2 separate regions of the Homo sapiens genome follow, and region 1 is linked to region 2. The links are contacts of gene promoters, found by promoter capture Hi-C in human tissues and cell types (Jung and others, 2019). All regions are on one chromosome and are shown on one strand. The core of a region is centred on a gene start or on the middle of the fragment in contact, and the rest is flanking DNA. Distances in the headings are between cores, read along the strand shown.

Region 1 (3,891 bases), core at 1,046-3,545, 130 kb before region 2:
ACCAGAAGGTCTCCCAAACATATCTAATTTTATAGACAGTTTAAAGCAGACAAGTTTGTAATGTTAGGACAATCTTTATTTTGTATCTTTTCGAAATAGGATGTGAGCTGCAATGAAATTCAAACTATACCTTCCCAAATTGGTAACCTGGAGGCCTTGAGAGACCTTAATGTAAGAAGAAATCACCTAGTACATTTGCCTGAAGGTAAGAAACTATGAAATAAGAAACCATGAAATAATTGTTTTATTATTTTAAAGCTCTCTCAGACCAATCAAGACAAAAATGTATAAGGGTTACATCTAGGCTGGGCGCTGTGGCTCCTGCCTGTAATGCCAACACTTTGGGAGGCCGATGAGGGAGGATTGCTTGAACCCAGGAATTCGAGACCAGCCTGGGCAATATAGGGAGTCTGTCTCTACAGAAAATTAACAAATTAGCCCAGGGGGCTGGCGCACTCTTGTAGTCCCAGCTACTCAGGAAGCTGAGGTGGGAGGAGTCCCTGAGCCCAGGAGGCCAAGGCTGCAGTGAGCTGTGGTGGGGTCACTGCACTCTAGCCTGAGCACCAGAAAGAGACCTTTTTTAAAAAAACGGGGTGGGGAGAGAGAGAGAGAGTGTGTGTGTGTCTGTGTGTGTTTGTGTGTGTGTGAGAGAGTATGTGTGTGTTACCTCCAGTGTTTGAAATCTAATGGTTTATTTAATAGTGTTATCTGTTCCATTGTGGATTTTAAAAGCCTCTTCAATGAAAAGGTTTGATAACTCTTGACCTTTGATTTTATTTTTAGATCTTGTCAACCGATGTAATTAATAACTCAGGGTAGGGTCCCTGGAAATTTCAGTAAGCATGACTGTTTGGGGGAAATGTAACATGTTTGGATAAGGGGATAGTGTAGTATAATGAAAAACATTTCTGCAGTTAGCACTCACTTAAAAATGGACTTTGACCTGAACTTAACCGGTCACTGGAGATGTTCAAACAGAGGCTAATGAACCATGTGGAGGTGATGTGTAGAGTGAATGATAAATGGGGTGAGAGACTGCGCTAAGAGACGGGTTATTTACTTAGGCTGACTACAAGCTCTGATATATGTATTTGATAAAAATGATTAAACATTAATGAAGTCTAGTTTATCAATCTTTCACAAATTAATGAAACAGAATGCTAGAAAGGAAGATGAAAATGAGAGCTATTATTTTATGAGATCCAGAATATATATTTCTTCCTATATGTTTCTGCTCATCACCCAGCAGTAAGAGTCATCAGCTCATGGCAAGTCTTGTCTCAACTGTGCTCTCATTTACTTTCCCCTGCACTATTCTCTAGATTAATTTGAATCAAATACAGAAATTTATTGGTAAACATTCCAGAAAAACAAGGAATCTTCTCAAGGTATTTTCATGACAGTGCTTTTCTGGGTTCTTTGACAAAATATGACTTACAGTGTACAATCAATATTTTGTTTGTTTTGAGACAGGGTCTCACTCCCATTACTCAGGCTAGAGTGCAGTGGCACGAACATGGCTCACTGCAGCCTCGACCTCTCAGGTTTAGGTGATCCTCTCACCTCAGCCTCCCAGGTAGCTTAGACTACAGGCACTTGCCACCATGTCACCTACTTTTTGTATTTTTAGTAGAGACGGGGTTTTGCCCTGTTGCCCAGGCTGGTCTCAAACTCCTGGGGTCAAGAGATCCACTTGCCTCAGCCTGTCAGAGTGCTGGGATTATAGGCGTGAGCCACTGCACCTGGCCACAATACATGTTGAATTAACTAATGATGTTTTCGCTTTCCCTGTGGAATTCAAATATTTATACCAATTTGATACAGCATAATATTTAGTTCTAACATACTAGTGGAGCTTTGACATTTTGGATTCCAAGTAAATGTGTAAGAACGTGACCTTTTCAGTCCACTTTTATATACTTACTGCAACCAAAACCTTGCGTGTCTTTCCTCTCACTTGGCTTGTCCAGGAACCTTCACACTTTTTATCCTCAGGGCCTTCCTTATTTTCTCCTGGTTCTGTTTGCTACCAACTCAGGAATGTAAATGAAGGTTAGCAAAACCAAAATCATGACCTCTAGGACCTTATAACCCCAAATTTCTCCCTAGGGTTACCTCTGTACTCAGGACTCGCCTACTGTGGTTGGTCTTCAAAGACTTACTCCTATAATAATATTTAGTGTGAAATCAATTAATGAGAATATTAGGGTTTTAATCAAAATGAAAATTGAGCATTTCAGATGACAATGGAAGCTTAATAGTTTTATCAACTAATTTATTTCTGTATCTTATTTTGATTGTAGACTGCTGACAAAATGGTTTATCACACAAATAGTTTCAATTTTTTTAACAGTTTATTTTATAATCTCAGCACATATAGTTGAACTGAGTTAGCAAGTGAAGCTTTATTCCAACAGCTACATTCGTTCGTGTGGAAGTTTGTGTTACTTAATTGGTAATTTCTAACATTGCAATTTGGTACATGTCATATATCTTTTGTTATATTGCCATTTTGATTTAAAATTAATTTTTACCAAATAATATGTTACATCATTCAAAAAATATTAAAAAATATTAAGAATCTTTTTTTTTTTTTTTTCTTGAGACGGAGTCTCACTCTGTCACGCAGGCTGGAGTGCAGTGGTGCGATCTCAGCTTACTGCAAGCTTCACCTCCTGGGTTCATGCCATTCTCCTGCCTCAGCCTCCCGAGTAGCTGGCATTACAGGCACACACCACCACACCCAGCTAATTTTTGTATTTTTACTTCTTTTTTTTTTTTTGAGACGGAGTCTCACACTGTCGCCCTGGCTGGAGTACAGTGGAGTGATCTTGGCTCACTGCAACCTCTGCCTCCCAAGTAGCTGGGATTACAGGTGCCCGCCACCATGCCCAGTTAATTTTTTTTTTTTTTTTTGTATTTTTAGTAGAGACGGGGTTTCATTATGTTGGCCAGGCTGGTCTCAAACTCCTGACCTCATGATCCGCCTGCCTCAGCCTCCCAAAGTGCTAGGATTACAGGCGTGAGCCACCGTGCCCGGCCTTTTTTGTATTTTTAGTAGAGACGGGGTTTCACCATGTTGCCCAGGATGGTCTTGATCTCCTGACCTCGTGATCCGCCTGCCTCAGCCTCCCAAAATGCTGGGATTACAGTCGTGAGCCACCGTGCCCAGCCAAGAATCTTAAATAGTGTCGTTCCCCTGCCTCAAACTTCCCTGCACACCAATTTCAATGGCCAAAAGTATGTACCTTCATTAAACTCCTTTGACTCTTTTTTTTTTTGAGATAGGGTCTCACTCTGTTGCCCAGGCTGGAGTGCATGGCGTGACCAGAGCTCACCGTAGCCTCGAACTCTGTGGGCTGAAGCCATCCTCCCATCTGAGCCTTCCAAGTAGCTGGGACTGCAGACATGCACCATCACACCCAGAAAATTTTGTATTGTTTTGTAGAGACAAGGGTCTCACCATGTTCCCCTGGCTGGTCTCCTGGACTCAAGCAATCCACCCACCTCAGCCTCCCAAAGTGCTGAGATTACAGGCATGAGCCACAGTGCCCAGACTGCTGACATATTTCTAACTGATATGTTTTTATAGCTATTGCTGGTTTGGGCAACTTTGACACTTATGTCAGCTTCCTATTGTGATGATAGATGAGGATTTAGTTTCCTTACACTGTCACCATACCATGCCTTTACTGCTTTCCTCCCATCTTCCCAGTGTAGTTTTAGCACAACTTCTGATTAAATTGTTACTCAGTGTTCACATTACTGTAATTATGTAAACATTGTTCCCTGCCAATTCAAGTGATGTACTCTGATTTTATTTCCTTTCTTGTACATGTTTTTTTCTTTTTTTTTTTGAGACAGAGTCTTGCTCTGTCGCCCAGGCTGGAG
Region 2 (4,061 bases), core at 878-3,377:
GCTGGGATGACAGGCACACACCAACACCCCTGGCTGATTTTTGTATTTTTAGTAGAGACAGGGTTTCACTATGTTGGCCAGGCTGGTCTCAAACTCCTGACCTCAAGTGATCCACCCACCTCAGCCTCCCAAAGTGCTGGGATGACAGGCGTGAGCCACTGCGCCCGGCCCATACTTTGTTTTAAAAAGTATTCTTATCATGCTCTACTAATGGTCATCACCTGCAGTTTGAAAAATGCCTTAACTGACACTTGTCCAAGTGATCCTTTCGCTGACTCGTCAGGCCAGATCAGGCTTCTGGGCACTCATGCCACTACTTTCCCGCAGAGCTGTGTTCACAATTTGTTACGTTAGTGTCAGTTTCCCCCCACTAGACAACTGTTCCATGAAAGCAGCAACATGACAACGATGCTCACAGTTGTATCAGGTGCTAAGTCTCAGTGCTCAATAAGTATTTGTGGAACGAATAATACACGAGCAAACGAATGAAACTCACACTTAATGTGTTATTCCTCCCAGGAGGACTTCCATATAGAACTTTGACAAATCAATATCTAATAGTGAAATTTCTAGCACATTTCTTTCTGGGACAGGGAACACTGGGTGGGGTAGTAGGCTACAAGGTACAAGTTCTATCCTGTTGTATTTAAGAGAGGATCTGATTTTAAAAGTGACTTATATACATCTATTTCATACAACTTCGGAGTCATACTTTACTCTCTCTCATTCCTCATCCACCAGCAAATCTTGCCAGAATTTAAATATATTCAGAATTCCAGTACTCAATATCCTCTGTTTACACACCATCACCTCTCATCATAGTCACTACAGGAACCTATAATTATCTTCCTGCTGATACCCTTGCCTCCCTTCACTTTCAACACAGTGACTTTGTCAATATAGAAGTCAGATAGAGTCACCCTTCTGTTCAGGACCCTTAAATAGTTCCCATCTCAAAGCAGGGGAAGCCTCTTTTACATACTTCCCATCTCAAAGTGGGGAAAGCCTCTTTTACAGTGGCCTCTCTGCTTAATTTTCTTCACAGAAATTATCATCTTCTAACGTGTCATCTATTTTTACTTGCTCATTGTGTTGCTCCGCCTCGTAGGATATAAGCTCCACGAGGGCATAGATTTGTTTACTGCCGTGTCATCTTACACAAACCTTGGTACAGGGTAGTCATTCATTAAACTATGTGTTAAATAAATGAATGAATCCATAGGATAACCCAAATAAATATGCAATAATTCGGAAATGTGAATCTCTGGCGTCCACTAATCCACCTCTACAAGTATCTACGGAGGACCTACTAGGTGCGGACACGAGGCAGCTAAACGAGTTCTCCTAAAAGGGCGATAAAGCCTCCTGCAGGCAGTCCTCCTCATACCTCGGATCCAAAAAGAAGAATGGAGGTAAGAACTTAAGTCATTTCATTCATTTTTTTTTTCTTTTGTAGAGGTTGGGGGAGGTGGTCTCACTATGTTGCCCAGGCTGGTCTCGAACTCCTGGCCTCAAGCGATCCTCCCGCCTCGGCTTCCCAAAGAGCTGGGTTTACAGGCGTGAGCCACTGTGCCCAGTCTCATTTCTTGAAAGAGATAAATAAGTAGAGGGGAGAAAAGAAGTATAGAAAAAGAAAAAAGAGAAGGAAGAGGTCCTGCTGCCTTCGTGCTCCCGGCCTTTCTCTTCCATGCTAGATTAGGATCCCAGAATTTCCGTTCTGTCTATTGCTGTGTGTATCGAGAGAAAAGCACCCCACTGTTGGCAAATCAATCTTACAGTCAATCATTCTTTAGGCAGCGGGAACATCCTCCACTCAGGGTTCGCCTTTCCACCTACGGCGTCCGGGGACGCAGGAAGTAAACTAAGTTGTTTCTATGGCAACGCACAGCTTTGGCGGATTTAGCTGGCTACCATTTTGCCTTCCCTTGTTCCCAAGTAGTACATTTTGCAGCCTACCAAGATGAAAGGACTTAGGAAAATAATTGTAAGAGTGCTATTGAATGTGGCTTATTTCAGTGCGAAGCCGATTTCCGAGGATTGTTTTTCTGGCGTTTGGAGAAGATGCCTAAATTGAGGGCGGAGTCGAAAGATGTTTAATCCCACAAGGCCACGCGGCGGGGCCTCGTCCTTCTCTTACCGCCATCTTGGCTCCTGTGGAGGTGAGTGAAGGGTCTGCTGCTGAAATTTGGGGGCAAATAACCGGAGTAGGTTTGTTCCTGTGCCTTGGCGAGTCGCCGGTGCGTATCGGAGTCTCTGCCAGCCATTGATTTCTACGGGTTTCAAGAAGAGGGAGAACAGGATGGAGGAGATGTTGGGCTGATGGTGTTTGGTCCCCTGACACCCGGAGAACGGCTGCCCGGGTTATCCCAGTTAAATTCCTGGGCCTGAACGGAGTGAAACGATGTTTTTGTTCGTGTGCAGTTGTCCATGAGGCAGTGCTTCCTTCATCCGTTTCCTCCCAGTCCATACCTTCCTTGGCTTGTCTGACCAGTCTCTTTCCTCAGCTTTTCTCCCCCAGCCATTGCATAAAAGTCTTACGTGTGTGTTTCTCTTTAAGGCTTCATTTCTTTTCCTGAGTGTTGCCTACTGATAACGGCATGCATTTTCTCAGGCTTTTCTGAGAGTCATTTTTGTGACTCCTGTCCCTTAGTTTTGTCTTCATTCTGAAGTTTGCTTAGATACCAGCTGTTCTCTGAGGTTTGAATGTCTTGCCGGACCCTGCGTTTCATATGGATGTTCTGGCATTGTTGTCCCCGAACTCCTACATGAAACTCCCATCCAAAAGGAATTTGCTTTAGGGGCTTAAACGAGAGGGGACGAGGTGGGAAACTTGTGTGGCTTGGTTTTAAACTAATCTTTTTGTTTGTTTTAAGGCCTGCTGGGAACGGGACTTCTAAAAGGAACTATGTCTGGAAGGTACGCGTTTTAAATATAGTTCTTTATTTTTGTGTGTTAGACGTGAACGTAAATGCGAGCTTAAAATTGGCAAGAAAAAACTTAGATGTTTGCTCTGAGTAACTTTTGGGTGGGGGTGATTACAAGTCAGATTGGTTTTTTGAAGCTTATGTTTCATGTTGTGTATCTTTTGTGTCTTAGGCTGTGGTCCAAGGCCATTTTTGCTGGCTATAAGCGGGGTCTCCGGAACCAAAGGGAGCACACAGCTCTTCTTAAAATTGAAGGTGTTTACGCCCGAGATGAAACAGAATTCTATTTGGGCAAGAGATGCGCTTATGTATATAAAGCAAAGAAGTAAGTTTATGACACTGGTAGGTTTTGGGTTTTTGAGATCTGCCTCATTTTCTTTTTTATATAACGGAGTCTTGCTCTGTTGCCGAGGCTGGAATGCAGTGACTTGGTCTCCCTCACCGAAACCTCCGCCTCCCGGGTTCAAGCAAGTGTCCTGTCTCAGCCTCCCGAGTAGCTGGGATTACAGGCGCCGGCCACCACGCCCGGCTAGTTTTTGTATTATTAGTAGAGACAGGGTATTGCCATGTTGGCCAGGCTGGTCCCAAACTCCTGACCTTAGGTGATCCGCCCACCTCGGCCTCCCAAAGTGCTGAGATTACAGGCTTGAGCCACCGCGCCTGGCCTCATTATCCTATTGAAATAATAAACAAAAGATTTAGCTGAAGTACTTGGTATTGTTTTTTTGTTTTTGTGACAAGAGTCTCTGTTGCCCAGGTTGGAGGGCAGTAGCGCGATCTTGGCTCGCTGCAGCCTCTGCCTCCTGGCTCAAGCGATTCTCCTGCCTCAGCCTCCTGAGTAGCTGGGCTTACAGGGGTGTGCCACCACGCCCGGCTAATTTTTGTATTTTTACTAGAGAATGGGTTTCCCCATGTTGGCCAGGCTGGATTGGTATTGCTGTGGCTTCTATTTTGCGTCATTAAGGAACTTAATGGGGAGTTTTAGAAGGACGTTACTTCTGAGGGTGGTGTTGGATTTAGGTACCTTTTGCACTTGTAAGCAATAAAGGAGGTAATTCCTTATATTGTGATCCTTTTAAGGTTTCTAATTTTTTTTCTCGGCTCCTTTTGCCAGAATTTAAGGATTTTTAGAACACT

Evidence for each region. The method cuts DNA at HindIII sites, captures the fragments that hold promoters and counts their contacts. A contact is called where the count stands out against the background at its distance.
Region 1: a contact is called between a fragment that was not itself captured here and the fragment with the promoter of RPL35A in region 2, in 2 of the 25 tissues and cell types used here (mesenchymal stem cells and thymus).

The regions. Positions count from the first base shown.
Region 1 is chr3:197,820,226-197,824,116 of GRCh38, forward strand. LRCH3 (leucine rich repeats and calponin homology domain containing 3) reads left to right here. Exons shown (of 21, transcript NM_001365715.1): 4 at 100-205. Among named protein-coding and RNA genes, the nearest start is that of LRCH3, 31 kb to the left of the region's middle. The HindIII fragment of the contact is 4,661 bases long and covers 1-3,891 here.
Region 2 is chr3:197,948,063-197,952,123 of GRCh38, forward strand. It overlaps RPL35A (ribosomal protein L35a), which reads left to right and starts at 2,128. Exons shown (of 5, transcript NM_000996.4): 1 at 2,128-2,159; 2 at 2,874-2,916; 3 at 3,097-3,249. The coding sequence starts at 2,906. All of the region lies in intron 2 of DRC9 (dynein regulatory complex subunit 9), which reads right to left. RefSeq lists enhancers at 1,531-1,750, 1,830-2,612, 3,396-4,061. The HindIII fragment of the contact is 11,846 bases long and covers 1-4,061 here.